Regions from separate parts of the Homo sapiens genome. Here regions 1, 2 and 4 are each linked to region 3. The links are contacts of gene promoters, found by promoter capture Hi-C in blood cells and fetal thymus (Javierre and others, 2016). All regions are on one chromosome and are shown on one strand. Each heading gives the region's core, a stretch centred on a gene start or on the middle of the fragment in contact. The rest is flanking DNA. Distances are from core to core; before and after follow the strand shown.

Region 1 (3,090 bases), core at 258-2,757, 100 kb after region 3:
CACAGAATTCCCAACTAGATGACTGTGGCAGAGGGAACACAAGATGCCCTCACTGCCACCATTCCCTCCTATTTCTGTTCACGCTAAGCATTTTCTGTCTAATGCACCCACTCTGCGGGGAGCAAAAGCGGCAACACTGGTTCCGCGTCTTGGCAGCTAGCTACAGTGTGATGTCAGTTTTACTCCTGGAGGTTTCTGAGGTCTCCTGCCCCTTGTTTCATAGGAAAGATGGCTTTGGCTTTGTTGCCTCGGTAAAGCGTTGGATTAAGTCCTGAGGCCCTGACATTGGTTGCCCCCTTTTATTGACGCCATCTCCCTGATTGTACATTAGATGATCTGCCCATGGCCAGCTGAGCTTCTTGATGTCTGTGAGCACTGATGGGATTGGTCTTGTCACACGGGCTGGACCCAGACCCTAAAGCAGGTCTTAAAAGCGTTTTCCCATTCCCCAGTGAAGGTGGGAACCAACTGATGGACCGTCACCAGCCTGGCACCCCTTGCTCAGCTGTTTGTAATCAGGTGTCTTCTGCCCCCTGCCTCTCCCAGGGCTATTGCTGTGCCAGTGACCTGACCTTTCCTGGCCCAGTCAATTAAAATCATTTTTTCTGAGTCTTAGAATTCTTGTCACCCCACCATGATAGGGACATCTCAGTTACCTTCTTGGGAAGAACCTTCGGCTTCCTAAATGTTTGCTAGAGTTGCTATACGAATACTACAGACAGGGTGTCCTAAACAACAGAAGCTTGTTTTCTCACAGTCTGATATTAAGGTATCACCAACGTGGGTTTCTTCCGAGACCTCTCTGTCTGGCTTGTAGATGGATACTTTCTCCCTGTGTCTTCACGTGGTCTTCCCTTTGTGTATATCTATATTCTAATCTCCTTTTCTTTCAAAGGACACCAGTCTGTTGGAGTAGGGCCCATCCCCAATTGACCTCATTGTTAACTTAATTACTTCTTTAAGAAGGCCCTATCTCTAAACACAGTCACATTCTGAGGTTCTAGGGGTTAGAACTTCAATATATGAATTTGAGAGTTTGGGGGAGATACAATTCAGCCTGTAACACCAAGATTTTACCCCCAAACTAATAAGTTCTATTGTGTTCTTCTCCCACTTGCAGTTACTGCCTGGCAGTAAGTGTCAGGAGGTGCTTTGGAGGTCCATGGGCAATGGCTCGCTCCAAGCCTGGAATAAATGACCTCTGGGGTTGACAGGCACCGAGAGACAACTGGACCCAGGGCTCTTAACCCTGTCCACCAAAGCCACTCTGCCCCATCTCCCAGAAGGGATCCTCAAAGCTGAGCTATCCCAAGGCACACTTGTTTTCTAACTGAGGGTGTTTTCCTAAATGCCAGTGGGGAAGAACACCAGTGCCGATATGCTAGGCTAGACCCAGCCATGCAGAGTACAGAGGAACTGCCCTTGCCTGCACCAGGCAAATCTTTCATGGGTGTTTTGAGCACTTACTATATACCACATACTGTCCTGGGTATTTACTTTCTTTGGAAAAAAAAAAAAGGCCAGGTGCGGTGGCTCACGCCTGTAATCCCAGCACTTTGGGAGTCCAAGGCAGGTGGATCACAAGGTCAGGAGATCGAGACCATCCTGGCTAATGCGGTGAAACCCTGTCTCTACTTAAAAACACACACACACACACACACACACAAAATTAGCTGGGCATGGTGGCATGCGCCTGTAGTCCCAGCTGCTCAGGAAACTGAGGCAGGAGAATCTCTTTGAACCCTGGAGGCGGAGGTTGCAGTGCTGAGATCGCTCCACTCCACTCCAGCCTGGGTGACAGAGCAAGACTCCATCTAAAAAAAAAAAAAAAAAAAAAAAGAAGAAGAAACCTACCATTCACCATTTTATTATTATTTTTTCTTTTGGTTAAGATCTTTCTATGTTGCCCAGGCTGGTCTCCAGCTCCTGGGCTCAAGTGGTCCTCCTGCCTCTGTCTCCCAAAGTGCTGGGATTACAGATGTAAGCCACTGCACCAGCGACACTATTTTGTTCTTTAACATAACAATCATATTAACACCAAAAATGTAAGGCAGACATATTCTTAAGCAGTTCTTTGCATGAAAATAATTTGGCTTTAAAATACTACACTTTTCTGTTTTTCTCATTCTGCTGTGAACCAGAGACTTCGTTACAAAAAGTTATCATTTGAACTTAGCTTTGAAGGTGAATAGGAGAGAGGTTGGTGTGGGCCTAGGGAAAATTCTACAAAAAAGGATAGGTCATGAATGTTCTGGAAAGAACATAAGCTTTGGAGGTAGACACAGATGGTTTGGAATCTTGGCTCCGGCACACATTGTGTATGACCTTGAGAACAAATATGAACTCATGGTATGGGAGCTCCCTGGCTTTCACACTTGGGCAGTGGGGTGTTAATTTGCATTGGTAGTGGTGAGGATGGAAGTACGTAGGCCTTATTAATATTAGAAGACCTCTAGTGGTACCTCCGATCTCTCCCGGAATCTGTAATACATCCTCAGAATGAGAGTAGCTGTTGTCATTTTTATTGAAGTGGGCACAGATACACAAACAATTGTCATTAAAATGCTGCCGGTCCTAAGAAGCTGTCTCCAGTGCATATGGCTTTCTTCATCCTCATTAGGCATTCCAGGCAGTTACAACCAAGCAGCCGCTTACACACCTGTGGATGTGACTCCACACATATGGATGCATTGCCGTAGTCCTTTGGGATGAAATCTGTGCCAGAGATTGGTCTCATTTCACAAGGTTAGGAAGAAATAGACCGTCATCTAATTGTTAATGAGCTGTGATGAATTTGACATCATAACCAGGGAGAGAAATTTACTGCAAACTAAAGCATTCTTTTCTTTTTTCTTTCTCACTCTTTTTCACCCCAAGACACATATCACATTTTCAGAAGGGTTTTTTCTTGTCTGAGATGGGAAGAGACTTTTGAGCATGTTTGTGCACTGAACAGCAGGAGCCAAGAGAGGGGGAAACTAACAGATGGAGCAAGACCTTGGCAGAAGTAGGAGGTGATGGAATTAGGAGGCAAGTGGAGGGATCTCCACTCGTGCTATGTTACTGCCACGTTCACACACCCATTCCCCA
Region 2 (3,072 bases), core at 89-2,588, 64 kb after region 3:
GGAGAGGGTGACTTGCATCCCAGGAGCAGATGAAATCCTTCAGGGTGAACGTGTTGAGTTAGATGAGGAAAGAGCTACTCTCCAACCTGGTGAACAATAGATATGGTTTTTTTCTATATTCGGTGGTACTTCAGATTCATTTATTTAAAAAAATTGATGTCTCCACTTACTTTTTCAGTGGTATAGCATTTAAGTACTAGTAGCCTTGGCTACAATAGGGGTAAGTGGATGTTTTCTAACTGCATGTCACTTTGAAGAGAACCTAATGTGAGCACCGTTCTCCCTTGTCCTTGTCATGTTCCATAGACAGATATGTGACTTCAACCAGATGATAATGCATCAGAATACAGCAAGGAACCAGTTTTGCAATGCTTAGAAATATGTTTTCTTACATGTGGAAGATAATTCTCTGCAATTCAAATGCTTGATTTGATGAGGAAAGACGAGAAGCAATGTGAACTAAACTGTTAGGCTGGTTTGCAAAATAATTGTACTCATTCATTTTTATAACCACTCACACCCAGGCCTGTAGGGCATCTTAAGAAAACCGCCAGGGCCAAATTTGTAATTAGCTGAGTCCATTTTTGCCAGACCTAACCATGTATAAGACAGGGTTGGTTTTGTTATTTCCTTAATTGAAAGCGTCAAGAAAAATTCAAGCCAGGTCAGAGAGTTTTTTATTGGGGAAGGAATGCTGGCATAAATAACTCCAGATTATATGTCTGCCAGAGGCTGGGAGGAGATTTGTCTCTGTGGCCTCTTTCTGAGGTTACCCAAACAAACTCTGGTGACTGGCAGCTCCCCTATGTAATGTGGGAATGCACACGAGCATTGAAACCTCTTTAATTTTTTTCCCAGGGCAAAGGCCCAGGAAAGTCAAAGTGTCTCTAGGAACCTAAAAGCTTTTGACAACCATAAAATCATTCCTGATTTCCTCTAATATATCTTGTCCTCTCCTTTTTCCCCTTTTATTCCAGTTAATAGGTCAACAATATAACCCAGCCACCCTGGGACTAGATGGAGAAGGAACTGGTATTGGTTAACAGACTTAGGGAGTAGTTCCCACTGTTTCCATACTGCAAAGGTGGAAACTGAGACTTATTCAAGGTTGTTCAGGTGGGAAGTCATAAAAGGAGAATTCAAAATCACATCCATTTGGTGCCCAATTTATACACTTTGTACTATCCTGGCTGGGAAATACCTGTTTCAAATATAGAAGGTGTAGAGCTTAGGTGACAAGCATTCTGATGTCTTCCTCAATTAAGGCTCTAGTGGCCTTTTCATTGCTTTTCCTTCTCCCCACATTCCCACCCCAGGGACCATTCTTACATTAAGCAGCTGCCCTAGATTTCTTGGGGACACTAGACCTCTTTCCTAGCGATTTCTAGCACCCCCCTCCCACCATTTCTGGCTTATAGAAGGTACTTGCCCTCCTCTCTGACTTTCCACTTGCCTGCAGAAAAACTGATTGGCTTTGCTTTTCTCAAGCAGGGCAGGGCAGTATAACTGGTATAGAGACAGACTTCCTAAGGATACAATTAGTTGATGCTTCCCAACATGGAAAGGCATGGATCTTTCTGTCTGTAACCACACTTTGCAGTCTAGGTCTGCTCCTATGGAACCCTGGAGCATAGGGGAAACTGCCCCCATAACAGGATGGAAATAGTAAGTGTAACGAACGACAGTGCCTTTCCACACTTCCCTTCCTCCTCTGAATGAATTCTCCACCCAACTAAAATATGTCTCCAAAGCTATTTGAGAAATGTGAAGCTTGGCTAGCCCATAGGACCTATGGGCTTCTATACCAAAGCTGCTGGTATAGTATAGGTATGGAAAACCATGGATTTCAAATCTATAAATGCCCTATGCTGATACCTTACAACTGTACCCCCATGAAACTGATATAACCAGTGTCCTTGTTTTATAGGGAAAGTTCTAATATAGTGCCAAATGTAGCTTAGCCTTCCTGCCATTCTCCCAGGGAGTTCAAATTGGATTCCTCGCCTTCATTATCTCTGGAGGGTGGAGGGGAAGTATTGCCCACACAGTATCCCAGGAGTCATGAAACCAGTGTTTTATTAAATGCAACATCATCATTAATGCTGAACTTTATTTCCAAGTCCACTGGAGGCAGAAGAGAAAACAATTCAGGTAACCAGCTTCGCAGTTTTACTGTATTCCTCTGTCCAGTGCTTTCCCGTTTCTGGGTTTTGTGATCTAGGTTTGGATTAGGGATTCATAGTGGGAAGCTCCATGTTCCTGAAACCTGGTAATTATTTTGAATTAAGGATAAGAGTTTCACTTCCCTAATAAAATGTCAACAACAATACCTTACCCTTCATGCTTTCTGCTCTGTCTTGAGCATTTTTCATGCAGTAACTAGTGTAATAATCATGAAATTCTAGGCGTTAAGTCTTATCCTAACAGGTAAGGAACCAGGTCTGCTAAGATTGACCTGTGCTACCTCATGTGTGCTATCTGTCTGGGGGTGAGGAGTGATATCACAGTCTAGTAAAGGTCACTTGAACAGGCCATTCTCCCTGTGATTTCTATTTTTTTATGTACATCATAAAAGATGGCAGGATGCTATGAGACTATTGGCTATGAAGCTCTAGGGTCCTGAGTCTGGTATTTCTAGGGTAGGGCTTTCTGAGTTATGGCGTCTTCACCTCATAAACAGGAATAACACCTCTGCTTCAGATTGCACGGGAAGTAAGGAGATGGTAACGTGAAGAGACGGCAGAACATGCTATAATTTTAACAGCCAACAATAGATGGCTTTAGAAAGCTTAGATTAGATAATTCCAGACATTCTTATGAGCCATACTTGCAGCCTCCCAGGAACATTGCCTGTTTCTCTCCTGTAGAAAGCTGGAAAGGTATTTAGTTTGTGTTGAGTGGCTCTTTGACCAAGTATGCTTGATTCAGCTGTTAGCTTCTTTTGAATTCTACTGTGTTTGTTTGTTTTCACCAGCAAAGGTAGTAGAGTGCAGTGGGGCCCTTACGTGATCCAGACTTGAGCTCTGCTGTTTACTAGCCATATGTTCTTGGGCAATTTATATAACGTCTTCC
Region 3 (2,755 bases), core at 4-2,503:
CTGCACGTTTGGGGAGCAGGGTGGGGTATTTACCAAACCAAGGGTCTATTGAGTAAGGTGAGTTGTACTGGCCAAGCGGCCAGTTTATGAAACATGGAAAAACCAGGCCCAGAAATTTAGGCTTGATAGAGCAGGAAATCTCTATCGGGAGCCCCGCCCCTCTTTTTATGGAAGTTAAGTATAAATATAAATATATGATTTCTCACAAAGAGACAACAAACATTGTAACTTAATATAGGTACCCTCTAAACCAACTAAGATCTCTTTAGACCTTTGAAATACAAACTGTGGGCTTGCTTTCACATTCACTTATTCATTCCACAAAAGATTATGGGGCACCTACTAGAGCTAGCATTTTGTTAGGCACCATGGGGGGTACAAAGAACAAAAAAAACTTGGTCCCTATTCCCCAGGAGTTTACAGCTCAGTGGTGGAGACAAACGTGTACACAAATCCTTACAATAGGAGGTAAAAATGTAAATACAGGATTGTAGGGGCTCAGTTCCCAGAGATACTGCATGGAGGTGGTGTGGAAAATTAGAAAGATTTTTTAACACTAGTTGGTTTTGGATCAGGTTTAACATTGATGGAGTAGAACATGTTCTCTTTAAGGCAATAACCAGGGTTAAGGCTGTGGAAGCACATGTGCTGGAGTAACGAACAGTGGTCTGATTTGGCTGGAGAGCAAGTTTCCTCAAGGGGCGCCGTGGGGAATTTAGCTGGGTATGTGCCCAATAACCGAGGCTGGGAATCTGGTAGAAAGAAGTCGAGCTGAGACTTTATTCCGCATCTCTGTGTTTTGACTTAGGCATCTATTGGGTCCTTTTAAAAAAAATTCTCCTCCTCTTTCCTAAAGAGAGTTCTAGCAGTTGGGGGTGGGGTGGGGACCATTTCCTAAAGTCAACGCGTAAGTTAAAGGTCTGCAAGGCGGTCCACCGGTGATTTAAATCTCGCACTTCGGAAACCAGAAAAGGAAACCTGTGAGAAGCTGGGCAGGGGGAACCCGCTTAACATCAACAGCAACCCCTAAATGGCATCAGACCTTGGAGAGACAGGTTGCAGGCCAGACTCGGGAGCCAGGCGCCAGCACCCGCCAGAGCTCTGAGCCCCGAACTGGTGGGCAAGGGGTAGAGGAAGAGAGGGAGGGAGGGAGGGAGGAAGCGCGAGAGGGAGGGAGGAAGAAAGGGAGGGAGGCGGCGTCATGTGATCCGCTTCCCTGCTCCTTTAAGCGTCCACAGGCGGCGGAGCGGCCACAATCACAGCTCCGGGCATTGGGGGAACCCGAGCCGGCTGCGCCGGGGGAATCCGTGCGGGCGCCTTCCGTCCCGGTCCCATCCTCGCCGCGCTCCAGCACCTCTGAAGTTTTGCAGCGCCCAGAAAGGAGGCGAGGAAGGAGGGAGTGTGTGAGAGGAGGGAGCAAAAAGCTCACCCTAAAACATTTATTTCAAGGAGAAAAGAAAAAGGGGGGGCGCAAAAATGGCTGGGGCAATTATAGAAAACATGAGCACCAAGAAGCTGTGCATTGTTGGTGGGATTCTGCTCGTGTTCCAAATCATCGCCTTTCTGGTGGGAGGCTTGATTGGTAAGTGCGGAGAGCTGCAAACTTTTCCCCCTTTCTGTCTTTTCGGGCCCCTTCCCTCTTTGCCTCTTGGGCTACTTGTTACAGTATCACTGCCTTGCTTCTATGATCTAATTAGTCCGGCTATTGTGCTTAAGAAAGCAGAGCTCCATGGGGCTCCGTGGGGCACAATCCAGTCTAGTGGCTAAGAGAAAAGGAGGGGAAAAAGTTTTGGCCTAGTTTCAGTATCCACTTGAAAGGCAAGAGGGGGGCGGCGGGGGTGGGAATCTTAAGCATGGCGACGGATCGCGCGAGGAAGCGCTGGGTTACAAAGTTGATTGCTCGCCCCCCCCCCCCCCCGCTTTTTCCCGCGTTCCCCCCCTTTTCCTCTCGGTTCCCTTCCAATCAGCTCCGGGAGGGCAACGTAATCGACTTTATTAGGAACAACAGAAGAGTCGGGGAACTGTGCCCGGCGCAAACCCGGAGCTCTGTTACAAGGCTGAGATACTTGCACGGTTGTAAATGCATTTGGTCGTCTTTGCTAGGGGCTGAGGGTTTGCAATTTGGGGTCCCGACCTTCGCGCCCTCTGCTTTCCCGCCGCACTCCACCCCACGCTCTGCCGTGGACAGGTCCGAATTGTCGGCCGGGAGGTTGGGTGGGATGGGGTGGGGTGGGAGGGAGTCCTTGACCAGCGCCGCGGGAAGTTGGAGAGGTCGGAGGGGAAAAGCGTATCCGAAAGGTGTTGCTTTTGGCCTCCTGCCCACTCGTGAATATCCCTTCCCCCACTACTTAGAGCCCCGAGAGCCGGTGACTGTGAATGTCCCCGTCCTCTTTTGGCGCTTAGGAGAGCGCCCTCAGCTCCCACCACAGCCCCCCGCAGGTGACAGCTCGCCGGCCTCCTCGGCGACAGCGCCCGCCCCGGGAGACCTCCCCTGGCGTGCACCTCCCGGACCTCTCTGAGTCAAACAGGCTTCCGGGTGAAGAAAACCGCCTCACGGACCGTCCACTCGGAAAAACTCCCTTCCCCTCACTGTCTCCCCATCTGCATCCATCCTCCCGCCTCTCTGCACACTCGCGCCCCCCGCCCCCTCAAGATTTGGGACATCCCGGCACAAACTTCAATGCCAACTTTGCAGCGGGCGCGGACGGGAGGTTCGGTTTCCTTACTTCACGGCTTTGTTAAACTTTGCGGAGTG
Region 4 (2,769 bases), core at 253-2,752, 100 kb before region 3:
GCTGGGCATGGTGGCGGGCTTCTGTAATCCCAGCTACTCAGGAGGTTGAGGCAGGAGAATCGCTGGAACCCGAGAGGCGGAGATTGCAGTGAGGAGAGATTGCACCACTGCACTCCAGCCTGGCGACAGAGGAAGACTCCGTCTCAAAAAAAAAAAAAAAAAAAAAAGAAAGAAAGAAAGAAAGAAAAGAAGCAGGAAAAAGACCGATATCAAACTTATGGTGATGGAAAACAAGCAACAACAGTATAATGTCTGAGCTGAAAGGTCACATGACTAGGAAGTGGCAGAACTTGAGGTTTTAACTCTGGACTAACTCCAGGTTTGGTGCTCATTGCACTACTAAACTAGTTTTGTGGCAGGCAGAAAAGCCTGAGAGAGTGAGAGAGAAGGCAAATTAAGCACTATTTTCTTTTTCTTTCTTTTTTTTTTTTTCACTTAGCCTTGACTTGAAACTCACATTTTCTTAATTAAGCCAATTGGCCCACAAATGTAAGTAGCATTTTAAAAATTTCCCTGATAAGCAAAAGCTGGAAGCATTTCCCATAAGAACAGGAAAAAGTCAAGGATGCCCACTTTCACCACTCCTATTCAACATAGTACTGGAAGTCTGAACGAGAGCAATCAGGCAAGAGAAAAAAAGTAAAAGGCATTCAAATAAAAAATGAAGACGTCAAATTATCTCTGTTTTCTGTTGATATGATTCTATACCTACAATACCCAAGAAACTCTGTCAAAAGGCTCCTAGAACTGATAAATAACTTCAGTAAAGTTTCAGGATACAAAATCAATGAATACAAATCAGCAACATTTCTATACACCAGTAGTATTCAAGCTGAGAGCCAAATCAAGAACACAATTCCATTTACAATAGCCACACACAAAAATAAAATATTTAGGAATACATCTAACCAAGGAGGTAAAAGATCTCTATAAGGAGAGCTACAAAACATTGCTGAAAGAAATTACAGATGACAAATAAATGGAAAAACAGTCCATGCCCATGGATTGAAAGAATCAATATTGTTAAAATAGCTATACTGCTTAAAGCAATCTACAGATTCAATGCTATCCTTACGAAACTACCAACATCTTTTTTTTCAGATTTAGAAAAAAAATTTAAATTGATATGGAATCAAAAAAGAGCACAAATAACCAAATAACTTTGAAGCAAAAAGAACAAAGCCAGAGGTATCACATTACCTGACTTCAAACTACTATAAGGTTACAGTAACCAAAATAGCATGGTACTGGTACAAGAGCAGATATATAGACCAATGGAACAGAATAGAGAGCCCAAAATTAAGCCTCACATCTACAGCCATCTGACCATCAACAAAGCTGACAAAAACCAACAATGAGAAAAGGACTCCCGGCCGGGTACAGTGGCTCACTCCTGTAATCCCAGCACTTTGGGAGTCTGAAGTGGGTGGATCACAAGGTCAGGAGTTCAAGACCAGCCTGGCCAACATGGTGAAACCCCATCTCTACTAAAAACAAAATACAAAATTTTGCCAGGCATGGTGGCGTATGCTTTTAATCCCAGCTACTCAGGAGGCTGAGGCAGGAGAATTGCTTGAATCCAGGAGGTGCAGGTTGCAGTGAGCTGAGATCGTGCCACTGCACTCCAGCCTGGGCAAAAGAGCGAGACTCCATCTCAAAAAAAAAAAAAAAAAAAAAAGACAAAAGGATTCCCTATTCAATAAATGGTGCTGGGTTAGCTGGCTAGCCATATGCAGAAGGAGGAAACTGGACCCCTATCTTTTACCATATGCAAAAATTAACTCAAGATGGATTAAAGATTTAAATGCAAGACCTCAAACTATAATAACCCTGGAAGAAAGAATACGAGTTGCCCTTCTCGACATCGGCTTTGGCAAAAAATCTATGGCTAAGTCCTTAAAAGCAATTACAACAAAAACAAAAATTGACAAGTAGGACCTAATTAAACTAAAGAGTTTCTGCATATCAAGAAAAACTATCAACAGGGTAATTAGACAATATATAGAATGGGAGAAAATATTCATAACCCATGCATCTGACACAGTTTTAATATCCGGAATCTATAAGGAACATAAACAACTCAATAAGCAAAAAACGAATAAGCACATTGAAGAGTGGGCAAAGGACATGAAGAGACACTTCTCAAAAGAAGACATAAAAGCAGCCAACAAACATATGAAAAAATGCTCAACATCACTAATCATCAGAGACATGCAAATCAAAACTGCTATGAGATATCAACTTACACCAGTCAGAATGGCTATTAAAAAGACCAAAAATAACAGATGCTGGTAAGGCTGTGAAGAAAAGAGAACACTTACACGTTGTTAGTGGGAATGTAAATTAGTTCAGCCACTGTAGATAGCAGTCTAGAGATTTCTCAAAGAACTTAAAACAGAATTACCATTTGACCCAGCAATCCCATTACTGGGTATATACCCAAAGGAAGATAAATTATTCTAGAAAAAAAGACACATGCATTTGTACGTTCATTGCAGCACTATCCACAATAGCAAAGACATGGAATCAACCTAGATGCCCATCAACAGTGGACTGGATAAAGAAAATGTGGTCAGCCTGACATGGTGGCTCACACCTGTAATCCCAGCACTTTGGGAAGCTGAGGTGAGAGGATTGCTTGAGCCCAGAATCCAAGACCTGGGCTCAAACTGGGCAACATAGTGAGAACCCCATCCTCACAAAAAATTTAAAAATTAGCTAGGTGTGGTGGTGCATGCCTGTAGCTATTTGGGAGGTTCAGGCAGGAGG

Evidence for each region. Contacts are between HindIII fragments. The CHiCAGO score rates a contact against its expected background, and 5 or more counts as called.
Region 1: a fragment that was not itself captured here is called in contact with the fragment with the promoter of WLS in region 3 in 1 of 17 cell types (endothelial precursors); the score reaches 5.1 in endothelial precursors.
Region 2: a fragment that was not itself captured here is called in contact with the fragment with the promoter of WLS in region 3 in 1 of 17 cell types (endothelial precursors); the score reaches 5.6 in endothelial precursors.
Region 4: a fragment that was not itself captured here is called in contact with the fragment with the promoter of WLS in region 3 in 1 of 17 cell types (monocytes); the score reaches 6.6 in monocytes.

What each region holds. Positions count from the first base shown.
Region 1 is chr1:68,129,639-68,132,728 of GRCh38, reverse strand. The region is part of intron 11 of WLS (Wnt ligand secretion mediator); the gene reads left to right. The region is part of intron 8 of GNG12-AS1 (GNG12, DIRAS3 and WLS antisense RNA 1); the gene reads right to left. Among named protein-coding and RNA genes, the nearest start is that of MIR1262, 52 kb to the left of the region's middle. The HindIII fragment of the contact is 1,525 bases long and covers 745-2,269 here.
Region 2 is chr1:68,166,436-68,169,507 of GRCh38, reverse strand. All of the region lies in intron 2 of WLS (Wnt ligand secretion mediator), which reads left to right. The region is part of intron 9 of GNG12-AS1 (GNG12, DIRAS3 and WLS antisense RNA 1); the gene reads right to left. Among named protein-coding and RNA genes, the nearest start is that of MIR1262, 16 kb to the left of the region's middle. The HindIII fragment of the contact is 868 bases long and covers 905-1,772 here.
Region 3 is chr1:68,231,021-68,233,775 of GRCh38, reverse strand. It overlaps WLS (Wnt ligand secretion mediator), which reads left to right and starts at 1,253. Exons shown (of 12, transcript NM_024911.7): 1 at 1,253-1,582. The coding sequence starts at 1,477. The HindIII fragment of the contact is 11,043 bases long and covers 1-2,755 here.
Region 4 is chr1:68,334,610-68,337,378 of GRCh38, reverse strand. No RefSeq gene overlaps it. Among named protein-coding and RNA genes, the nearest start is that of WLS, 100 kb to the right of the region's middle. The HindIII fragment of the contact is 9,371 bases long and covers 1-2,769 here.